Linked DNA regions of Homo sapiens: all the other regions are linked to region 3. The links are contacts of gene promoters, found by promoter capture Hi-C in blood cells and fetal thymus (Javierre and others, 2016). All regions are on one chromosome and are shown on one strand. The core of a region is centred on a gene start or on the middle of the fragment in contact, and the rest is flanking DNA. Distances in the headings are between cores, read along the strand shown.

Region 1 (3,745 bases), core at 956-3,455, 620 kb after region 3:
TGTGGAGAGGATTCTAAGAGGGTCAAAAGGAGGTTTTATTTATTTTATTTATTTAAGACAGCTTCTCACTCTGTCGCCTAGGCTGGAGTGCAGTGGTGAGGTCTCAGCTCACTGCAACCTCTGCCTCCCTTGTTGAAGTGATTCTCATGCCTCAGCTTCCCGAGTAGCTGGGATCACAGGCATGCGCCACCATGCCCGGCTAATTTTTGTATTTTCAGTAGAGACGGAGTTTCGCCATTTTGGCCAGGCTGGTCTCACACTCCTGACCTCAAGTGATCCGCCTGCCTCAGCCTCCCAAAGTTCTGGGATTACAGGCGTGAGCCATCATGCCCGGCCTGGAGGTTTTATATTTAATTATTTCCCTGATACTACGTAATTTGCTCATTATGCCAACTGTTTATCATGTCTCTCCCTCTAGAAGGTAAGTTCTTTGTGGGGAAGAATCCATGTCTGGTTTTGTTTGTTGATGTCTTAAACTATGTATACAGCTCACGTTATGTCGAAGCCAAATAAAATATAGAGATATAGAGACAAATCTCTCGATTTAAAATGTTTTGTTGCGGTGGCTCATGCCTGCGATCCCAGCACTTTGGGAGGCTGAGGCGGGCAGATCACCTGAGGTCGGGAGTTTGAGACCATCCTGGCCAACATGGTGAAACCCCGTCTCTACTAAAAATACAAAAATTAGCTGGGCATGGTGGCATGCGCCTGTAATCCCAGCTACTCGGGAGGCTGAGGCAGGAGAATCGCTTGAACCCATGAGGCGGAGGTTGCAGTGAGACGAGATTGCATCACTGCCCTCCAGCCTGGGCGACAGAGCGAGACTCTGTCTCAAAAAAATAATAAAATGTTTTATTTGGGAAGCAAGAATTGACATTCGAGGCATCCACACAGACCAGGCGGTCTTCAGAACTTTCAAAGAACAAAGAGGTTAGAGGTTTTTATAAGAAACAGAAATGTTAGGTATTGTTTTGCAAGAAAGTTCATTGACACTAGCAACGTTCTGGGGAGCTGGCAAGTTCTGACTGGTAAGTGACAGCAGAGGGAAAAACTAGTCTTAGAGTCACGGCAGGTTTTTTCAGTACCAGTTAGACTGCTTCCAGGTTACAACAGGCAGTTTTAACAGCCAGGCTTGCAGAGAATCACTTTCTTGGAGCAATGGTATCTGCCCTAAGTGTTTTCCCCCCGGCCTCTCAACTTTGTTTTAGTTGGATATGACAAGAAGGATCCAATTCACATGATCAACTTTCACAATTTTTTTTTTCTGTTTGTTTTTTGAGACGGAGTCTCACTCACTCTTTTGCACAGGCTGGAGTGCAGTGGTGCAATCTCTGCTCACTGCAACCTCCCCCTCCCGGATTCAAGCAATTCTCCTGCCTAAGCCTCCAAATTAGCTGGGATTACAGGCGCGTGCTACCACGCCCAGCTAATTTTTGTATTTTTAGTAGAGACGGGGTTTCACCATGTTGGCCAGGCTGGTCTCGAACTTCTGACCTCAAGCGATCCGCCTGCCTTGGCCTCCCAAAGTGCTGGGATTACGGGCATGAGTCACCGCACCCAGCCACAATTGTATTTTTATTGGACAGAGCTGATCTAGAGGTTAAAATGAGGAATTCCGGAGCTAGGCTGGCTGGATTCAAATCCCTACTAGCTGGTGATCATAGACAAGCCACTTGGCCTCTGCTGGTCTCAGTTTTTTCACCTGTGAAGTAAAGGGCATAACAGCACCTACTTCATGGGGTTGCCACCCTGGCTGGCAGTAAAACCGTCCATAAAAGTTGGCTGGTGTTACTATTGGTTGCATTAATTTTTAGCAGCCGGAGCCTGTTTTCTCCTGTGAAATGAAGATAACCACGCCCGACCTTAAAGGTGATGGAAATTTTTTAACACGTTAACGGATACGAGGCCTCCCACTCAGAAGCCTGACCAAAATAACAATGGTTGCTCAGAGCCAGACGTCTCATTGCTACTAACGAATTAGGGACACTTCAAGGGGCCGGCTGGAGGGGACGGCTGTGAGCAGCAGGCCTTGGCTCCTGGCTGCACCTGGCCCCGTCGCGGGAAGCAGGTTGGGTTTGGAGAGCGGGAGGGAGCAGGCGGGAGGGGCTGGCGAGTAAGAAAGAGGATGCAGGGGTGGGTGAAGCTGGCTAGTAAGAGGGGAGGGGCCGGCGAGTAAAAAGGACGCAGAGGGGCGTGGGGAGCTTGCGGCACAGCTAGGGCATCCCGGCGAGGAGCGCCGCCAGGCCCCGGGGTAGGACTTGGGGTGCGGTGTCGGTGCGGCCGCCGAGGGGGGCTGATTGCATGCAATTCGGGGCATACACACAGACCGCGGGGTCTCCGGGATATCGGGGCTATCAAGGACGGGCTGGGGGATGGGGACTTGGGGACGGGGCCCAGGGATGGTGAAGACGGGGGTGCGGCTGGCAGAATCAGGGCAGGCAGAGGCTGCGCGCCGCGGAGGCTGCTGGTCCCTGACGCCTTGACCCTTCCTCTCCCGCAGCCACAGCCGGGCCTGGCGGGGGGACCATGGGCGCCTCGGTCTCCAGGGGCCGGGCCGCCCGGGTCCCCGCGCCGGAGCCGGAACCCGAAGAGGCGCTGGACCTGAGCCAACTACCCCCAGAGCTGCTTCTGGTGGTGCTGAGCCACGTCCCCCCGCGCACGCTGCTCGGGCGCTGCCGCCAAGTGTGCCGGGGCTGGCGAGCCCTGGTGGACGGCCAGGCCCTGTGGCTGCTGATCCTGGCCCGCGACCACGGCGCCACCGGCCGCGCGCTGCTGCACCTCGCCCGCAGCTGCCAGTCTCCCGCCCGTAACGCCAGGCCTTGCCCCCTGGGCCGCTTCTGCGCGCGCAGACCCATCGGACGCAACCTTATTCGCAACCCCTGCGGCCAAGGTGGGATCTCGGAAGAGGAAGTCCAGGATGCTGGGCCACAGTGGGAGCGGTAGCGGGGCCGGAGGGGCGGGGCCGCACTGGGACCGGTACTAGGGGCCGCAGGGGCAGGGCCGCAGTGGGACCGGTGGGAGGAGTCGGAGAGGCGGGGCAGCATTGGGAGCCGGTGTGAGGTGCCGGAGGGGCGGGGCAGCATTGGGAGCCGGTGGGAGGTGTCGGAGGGACGAGGCAGCATTGGCACGCAGGGTGCAGGGCTGACTGGGCAGGGCTTCACCGTTTGCCTGTGGGAGGGGTGGGAGTGGGGCAGTTCTGGGAGCCCGAGAGAGGGGTTGGAGGGGCAGGGCTTTGCTGCAAATCAGTGAGAAGGGCCAGAGGAGCGGGGCTTTGCCCTGAGCTGGTGGGAGGGGAAGGGGGCGGGGCCTCGGTGGGAAGGGTCAGGTGAGTGAGCTGCACTGTGAGCACGTGGGAGGGGCTAGGGGCGGGGTCTCACTAGGAACCAACAGGCGGGCGACTGGAACTTGGGCACAAGCCTTTTTTATTTCACAGAAGGCCTCCGAAAGTGGATGGTGCAACACGGTGGGGACGGCTGGGTGGTGGAGGAAAACAGGACAACCGTGCCTGGGGCCCCTTCTCAGACGTGCTTCGTGACTTCATTCAGGTGAATGCCCCTGCTATCCAAAGGTCCGGCCCCTTGTTGAGAAAGGCCTGCCTGTTCTCATTACCCTGTCTCCTGCATTCCCAGCTGGTGTTGCAAGAAGCAGGTCTTGGACCTAGAGGAGGAGGGTCTGTGGCCAGAACTGCTGGATAGTGGCAGGATTGAGATTTGTGTCTCTGACTGGTGAGTGTGACGATTAAAAT
Region 2 (3,618 bases), core at 744-3,243, 570 kb after region 3:
ACTGTGCCTGGCCTCCTCCACATTTTTTTTTTTAAAGACAGGGTCTCTCTCTGTTGCCCAGGCTGGAGTGTAGTGGCCAATCATGGCTCACTGCAGCCTTGAACTCCTGGGCTCAAGCGATCCTCCCACCTCAGTCTCCCAAGTAGCTGGGACTATAGGTGCATGCCACCACACCTGTCTAAGATTTTTTCTTTTTCCCTAAGAGGCAGAGGTCTCACTATGTTTCCTAGGCTGGTCCCAAACTCATGAGCTCAAGTGATCCTTCCGCCTCAGCCTCCCAAACTGCTAAGACTACAGGTGTGAGCCCCCACACTCAGCCTCAGTTCTGCCCCTTTACAGGTAGCAACTCATTTACACCTCACCATGAGGTTGTACTAATATTACCCCATTATCCAGATGAGGAGACTGAGGACAGAGAGGTTAAGCCACTTGCCCAAGATTAGGCAGCAGGTACATAGCAAAGCTGGGATTCTAACCCACGTGGTCTGGGTGCCAATGGTCCAGAGTCCAAGCTCTTACTCCCACAGTGGAAGGATCCTAATCAAAGATCGGGAGGCAGTCAGCCTCGTGGGGAAGAGGAGAAGAGGGATGGAGAAGGGGCTGGGTAACCCAGCTCTGTTATCATTCATCCACTGGTTCCTTCCACAACTGGCTCTGAGGCCTACCGTGCATGAACGAACAAACGTGCCAGGTCCCGGAAACACAACAGAGATGCAATGAACAAGGACAGCAGCGGTCCCCTTTTGAGAGCAGGGGAGCACTCTCTGTGGGCTGAGCACCATGATCATTCCCCACACTTCCAGGTGTTCCACAGCCTGTACTTCCTATTCCACAGAGGTGGATGATGGAGGCTCAGGAGGAATGAGCCACCCGCCTAGGGGCTCACAGTGTGGGATTCCTGAGCCCTCAAACAACGAAGCACCGCTGGGCCTCTCTGGTAGAGGCATAGAAATGAGTCAGGGACACTTACCTGGGTAAGACAGATGGACTTGCTCTGGGGCAGCGCTGGGAGCCCCCAGGGACCCCTGGACTCCCAAGGAGAATAGCAGGAGTAGACAGTAACAGGACCAGTAGCCAGGAAGGGGGTGCATGGTGGTGGGGTGGTGATGGCAGACCGGGGAAAAGCAGGGGGACTGAGGAGATCAGCTCCCCACAGGTACAGCAGGAAGGGCTGGGAGGATGGGGAACAGAGGATGATCAGGCAGTGCTCTGGGGGACAACAGAGGCAGGGCAGGGAGGTCTCCTTCAAGATGGGTGGTTATCCAGGTGCTGGAGAGAGAAACCAAAAATAAGAATCGCTAAGGAACAGCAGCAGAGCTCTCTGAGCCTCACTCACAGTGTGCCAACCGCTTGACATAGATTAATTCACGGAAGCCTCACGACATTGCTATGAAGTGGTGGCTGTGAGCATTGTCATCCCCATATCACAGATGAGGAAACCGAGCAGCTGAGTGATTCAGCTGCACAGCTAGGATGGGATGGAGCCAGGATTTGAACCCAGGAGGGCCTGATTCCAGAGCCTTGCTCCTAACCAGAGCTCACTCTCAGTGCTGGGGGTCTGGGAGCGGGGTGGAGGCTGTGTAGGAGGTTGCATTCCGCAGCCCCATCCCCAGCTTTCCATCCTGCTGTTAGAAACCCCAGTTCTCCTACCTACTCCCGAGATTCCAAGCATTCCCGCCTGCCCCCGGGACCTCGCCTCCCTACTCCATCCTTAGCCTTCTATTTTGCTCCTAGTGACCCCAATCCTCCCACACCACCCCCAGATCCTTTAGAGCCCATCATGGCCAGAGCGGCCGCATCCTCTCTCCCCATCCCCAGCGTCCCTGCCCTTCCCCCATCTGTACCCACCCCCCTTCTCTCCAGCGCTTTCCCGCCTGCTCCAGCTCCGTCTCCAGCTGCCAGGATGGAGCCGGGTCGGGACCATCCGGGAAAGGGGACGCCCTCCCGGACCCCGGCTCACCCTCGGGGGCGCCGGCTGCCCGCACGCGCCTCTCCCGCCACCAGCGCCGCCCCGGTATTTATGAGTTCGCGGGTGCCGAGGCCTCTTGCCGCCTACAGCCGTCCCAGCCCCGGAAGAGCCGGTCGCCTCGGGGTGACAGCCTCCCTAGACAGCCAGGGCCCCGGGTCCCACAGGTCCGGCCGGTCCTGCCTGGGCGCCCCACACCCACCCGCCCACCCCACCAGGGCGTGGCGCGGGAAGGGGGACCCAGGAAGGTTATGATACGTCTCCGGCGCGCCACCTCTGAGCCGGCCACCAGGTGAGAGCCCAGGCAGGTAACCCTGCGCTCGTCCCTCAGGCGCCCACTCATCAGCTGGGGAGCCCCAGGGCACGGACACCGGCCCCTATCCTGGCCCTGCCCGATCCCCAGGTACCCAGGTGTGCAGGACCGGGGGATCCCCAACCTTTCCAGCCTCGCTGCATCTTCCTCCAGCCTTCCGGCTTCCTTCCTTTCCATGCTGAGCCCACTGACCCCTCCTCAGAAGCCCGGGGCAACCTCAAAACAAAACCAGAATCCCGGAATTGCAGTGGGCTTTCTGAGCTGTGCGACCTAGGTGAGTTATTCAACCTCGCTGGACCTTGGGTTTTTTCACCTGTAAAAAGGAGGTGATGCTCGTATATACCCCGTGGGCTGTTGTGAGGAGTAAACGAGTTGCTGCATGAAATTTCATGCCGATAACAGGGCCCGGCCCAGAGTAAGGGCTGGATAAGAATCAGCTGTTCTTTTTAATCGTATTAATGCAGGAACTCCAGAAACTGACGTCTAGGGAACAAGTTAGGGTTCTCCCCTGTAAACCTTTGCAATCTGTTTGAACGTGAGGAGCGGCTGCCACAAAAAGAGAAGCAGGGAAGAACTGGGGGGGCCCGGATTTCCAGTCGTTTCCCCTTCCTGACTGCAGATACAATGACCCGCCACCACTTGGCTTTGTAAATTCAGAGCACATAGGCTTCTACTGATTGTGGACACCAATTTCAGAAATTGGCACTAGGAGTGTGGGAAAATCAAAACGAGCCCTTTGCACTGTTTGAGTTTTTTTTTTTTTCTTCCCACTTCCAGAGTCTCCATTACAGCCTAAAATATAATGAAAGTAGCTCTCATAACCAAACTTGAGTACCTGCCACTCCTGTGGCCCCCAATTATAACCTCCCCGTATTCTTAGTTCGTCCAGAATGGGAGGTTCCTAAGCTTTTTTGTGCTAAAGATGCCTATGGCAAGCTGGTCAAGCCCTTCTCAGGATCATGTCGTTACATGCATAATATAAATACACAGAAATACAAAGGAAACCAGTGCTATTGTGATACAAGGTGTTGGGGGGTTTTTTTGTTGTTGTTGTTTTGTTTTTGTGTTTGTTTTTTGGTTTTGTGTGTGTGTGTGTTTTGTTTTTGTTTTGAGACAGAGTTTCACTCTGTTGCCCAGGCTGGAGCACAGTAACACGATCTTGGCTCATTACAACCTCTGCCTCCTGGGTTCATGCGATTTTCGAGCCTCAGCCTCCCGAGTAGCTGGGACTACAGGCATGAACCTGGCTGAAAACGAGAAGTTTTAAAAACACACGAATATACATGCATATATTTCTATTAGCCATCAGAGTGATGACATTATCACAGGTCAGGTAGTC
Region 3 (3,930 bases), core at 3-2,502:
GCCCCCTCTTGTGTAGCTGGGGCAAAAGGTGCCTGCCACTCTGGCAGTCTGATATTTAAAGTTTTTTAAAGAAAGGGTCTCACTATGATACCCAGACTGGCCTCAAACTTCTGGCCTCAAGTTATCCTCTCATCTTTGTCTCTCAGATTGGTGGGATTATAGCCGTGAGCCAGTGAACCCAGCTGCTTTGTTGATTAATATCCACTGTAAGCTCTGTCTGAACTGAGACTAGACTTGTTCCTTCATGGGTGGAGGAACAAGTTTAGACTCAGTTGAGACATAGCTTACAGTGGATATTTTACGTGATTCAGTCTCTGAAACCATGGCCTCTAATATCCTTCTCTAGCAAACCTCCTGTCCCACAATGAAAAGGACAGGATAGGCTGGGGACAGGGAAGCTGAGCCTGGGAGGCAAGAGACAGTGGTCACTCTGTGCAGACCCCACCTGAGGATCCATCACCCCCATAGTCTCCATTCCTCTTCCCCACTCTTACTGGGAAGAGACATCTACTGATCATACATTCTGCTCTCATAAGTGATCTGAAACAAGTCCTTGGTAACTCACAATCTCCAAGATCCCTACCAGTTAAGCCACCTGGGATCCACATTGCCACACATGAAAAGACACACAGTTCCTTCATCAGAAGTGCTGTTGTGTGGGGAGGAACCTTCACATGCACAGAAGGCCACATGCGTGTTTTCCCTTCAATACTCAGTCACATCCCAGCACACACACCCACAGTCACACAGAGCCATGCCACTCACTGAGTTACACACACCTGCTCACTGCGCACATAAAGATGACCATGCACTGGTCTGGCTGTGCTAACACACACTCACATCACAAAGAGGAAGACAAAGTACAATCACCCCCCTTACACTCACACAAACACCTGCTTGACCTGGTGTGCCATCCACCTCCCACCTAAAGTCACATCATCTCATCAGAGTTCACTCTCATCAGATACCACCTCATGCTCACAGAGGGTTACATTTGTCCAGGATCCACAACCCACATGCTACAAGCATCTCAGATACCCAGCCTCAGTGTTTCTCTTCCACACACCCACAACTCTCAGTAAAGCATTCACAGTAGGAATGCTCATATTTTCATCTCATAAAATACCCCACATCTTTCTTGGTTTTGTGTGACTTGAGATTATTGAAGGCTGTGCCTTTTCAACTCACAGTTAGAAATGACATTGTCCTCTCCTTCTGGGCGACCTTCGGAATTGTGTCCAGTCTTCTGAGTGAATCTCTGAGTTGCAGCACTTAAATGACCCCTTTCAGCTTTGCCCTCTGGCATCATTCCAGATTCCATGCTCCTCCCAGCAAGCTTTCCTTGCAGCATGAGAAAGGGTCAGGTGTCACGAAGAAACTCAGTCACAACCATAACTATTTGCAAGTCTGTGTCTGTAATGCAGCAGAAATGACATTGGGGAAGGTACCAGACTGTGGATTGGGTTACCAGGGAAATGCATAGATAAGGATGATGGAGTGAGGGGTAGTGATTGTAAAGCCCAGCCTTTGTGCCTCTCAAGCCTTTTCTCCACTATGCAGAATCTACCCAGAAGGTGTACATTTTCCCAATTTTGTACAATGGCTAAACAAGAAAAAAAAAGTTGGAGATTTTGGGGGAAACAAGTTAGCCCTAAAAGGTAATTCTTCTCTCTGCCTTTAAATGTTCTGGGAGAGCACTGACCTTGATCCTGAGGAGGATCTGCAGAGAGAAGTAGAGAAATTTCTTGCATGAACCTGCCCCACACTAAGCCACTTGGCTTTGCTAGGTAAGGGCCACTTTCATCTGACTGTCACACACTTGGGCTCTAGCTACACCCTCTGTTGGTGTCCATGTAAATCAAAGTTTGAGGGAGACTGTTTCTTCTGCAGATTCTGGGAGAAAGGTGAGATTTAAAAAAAATTATTATTATACTTTAAGTTCCAGGGTACATGTGCACAATGTGCAGGTTTGTTACACAGGTATACATGTGCCATGTTTGTTTGCTGCACCCATTAACTCGTCATTTACATTATTTATCCTGATGCTATCCATCCCCCTGCCCCCCACCCCATGATAGTCCCCCATGTGTGATGTTCCCTGCCATGTGTCCAAGTGCTCTCATTGTACAATTCCCACCTATGAGTGAGAACATGCGGTATTTGGTTTTCTGTGCTAGTGATAGTTTGTTCAGAATGATGGTTTCCAGCTTCATCCATCTCCCTGCAAAGGACATGAACTCATCCTTTTTTATGGCTGCATAGAATTCCATGGTGTATATGTGCCACATTTTCTTAATTCAGTCTATCATTGAAGGATTTGGTTTGGTTCCAAGTCTTTGCTATTGTGAACAGTGCTGCAATAAACATACGTGTGCATGTGTCTTTATAGTAGCATGATTTATAATCCTTTGGGTATATACCCAGTAATGGGATGCTGGGTCAAATGATATTTCTAGTTCTAGATCCTGGAGGAATGGCCACACTGTCTTCCATAATGGTTGAGCTCGTTTACACTCCCACCAACAGTGTAAAAGCGTTCCTATTTCTCCATATCCTCCCCAGCATCTGTTGTTTCCTGACTTTTTAATGATCGCCATTCTAACTGGTGTGAGATGGTATCTCAATGTAGTTTTGATTTGCATTTCTCTAATGACCAGTGATGATAAGCATTTTTTCCTGTGTTTGTTGGCTGCATAAATGTCTTCTTTTGAGAAGTGTCTGTTCATATCCTTTGCCCACTTTTTGATGGGGTTGTTTGTTTTTTTCTTGTAAATTTGTTTAAGTTCTTTGTAGATTCTGGATATTAGCCCTTTGTCAAATGGGTAGATTGCAAAAATTTTCTCCCATACTGTAGGTTGCCTATTCACTCTGACGGTAGTTTCTTTTGCTGTGCAGAAGCTCTTTAGTTTAATTAGATCCATTTGTCAATTTTGGCTTTTGTTGCCATTGCTTTTGGTGTTTTAGTCATGAAGTCCTTGCCTATGCCTACATCCTAAATGATATTGCCTAGGTTTTCTTCTAGGGTTTTCATGGTTTTAGGTCTAACATTTAAGTCTTTAATCCATCTTGAATTAATTTTTGTATAAGGTGTAAGGAAGGGGTCCAATTTCAGCTTTCTACATATGGCTAGCCAGTTTTCCCAGCACCATTTATTAAATAGGGAATCCTTTCCTCATTTCTTGTTTTTGTCAGGTTTATCAAAGATCAGATGGTTATAGATGTGTGGTGTTATTTCTGAGGGCTCCATTCTGTTCCATTGGTCTATATATCTGTTTTGGTACCAGTATCATGCTGTTTTGGTTACTGTAGCCTTGTGGTGTACTTTGAAGTCAGGTAGCATCCAATTCTGTGAAGAAGGTCATTGGTAGCTTGTTGGGAATGGCGTTGAATCTATAAATTACCTTGGGAAGTATGGCCATTTTCACGATATTGATTCTTCCTATCCGTGATCATGGAATGTTCTTCCATTTGTTTGTATCCTCTTTTATTTCATTGAGCAATGGTTTGTAGTTCTCCTTGAAAGGGTCCCTCACATCCCTTGTAAGTTTGATTCCTAGGTTTTTTATTCTCTTTGAAGCAATTGTGAATGGGAGTTCGCTCATGATTTGGCTCTCTGTTTGTCTGTTATTGGTGTATGGGAATGCTTGTGACTTTTGCACATTGATTTTGTATCCTGAGACTTTGCTGAAGTCACATCAGCTTACGGAGATTTTGGGCTGAGATGATGGGGTTTTCTAAGTATACAATCATGTCATCTGCAAACAGGGACAATTTGACTTCCTCTTTTCCTAATTGAATACCCTTTATTGCTTTCTCTTGCCTGATTGCCCTGGCCAGAACTTCCAACACCATGTTGAATAGGAGTGGTGAGAGAGGGCATCCCTGTCTTGTGTCAGTTTTCAAAGGGAATACTTTCAGCTTTTGCCAATT

What was found. Contacts are between HindIII fragments. The CHiCAGO score rates a contact against its expected background, and 5 or more counts as called.
Region 1: the fragment with the promoter of FBXO27 here is called in contact with the fragment with the promoter of LGALS16 in region 3 in 4 of 17 cell types (total CD8 T cells, fetal thymus, naive CD8 T cells and 1 more); the score reaches 5.5 in total CD8 T cells.
Region 2: the fragment with the promoter of ACP7 here is called in contact with the fragment with the promoter of LGALS16 in region 3 in 3 of 17 cell types (naive B cells, total B cells and fetal thymus); the score reaches 7.4 in naive B cells.

Annotation. Positions count from the first base shown.
Region 1 is chr19:39,031,009-39,034,753 of GRCh38, reverse strand. FBXO27 (F-box protein 27) reads left to right here and starts at 2,205. Exons shown (of 6, transcript NM_178820.5): 1 at 2,205-2,251; 2 at 2,501-2,890; 3 at 3,434-3,545; 4 at 3,630-3,725. The coding sequence starts at 2,527. RefSeq lists silencers at 2,427-2,496, 2,557-2,706, 2,907-2,986, 3,137-3,376, 3,226-3,408 and enhancers at 2,318-3,110, 3,517-3,626. The HindIII fragment of the contact is 11,668 bases long and covers 1-3,745 here.
Region 2 is chr19:39,082,743-39,086,360 of GRCh38, reverse strand. It overlaps ACP7 (acid phosphatase 7, tartrate resistant (putative)), which reads right to left and starts at 1,993. Exons shown (of 13, transcript NM_001004318.3): 1 at 1,961-1,993; 2 at 971-1,269. The coding sequence starts at 1,091. RefSeq lists an enhancer at 1,640-2,140. The HindIII fragment of the contact is 23,028 bases long and covers 1-3,187 here.
Region 3 is chr19:39,653,235-39,657,164 of GRCh38, reverse strand. LGALS16 (galectin 16) reads right to left here and starts at 1,252. Exons shown (of 4, transcript NM_001190441.3): 1 at 1,189-1,252. The coding sequence starts at 1,203. The HindIII fragment of the contact is 3,782 bases long and covers 1-1,338 here.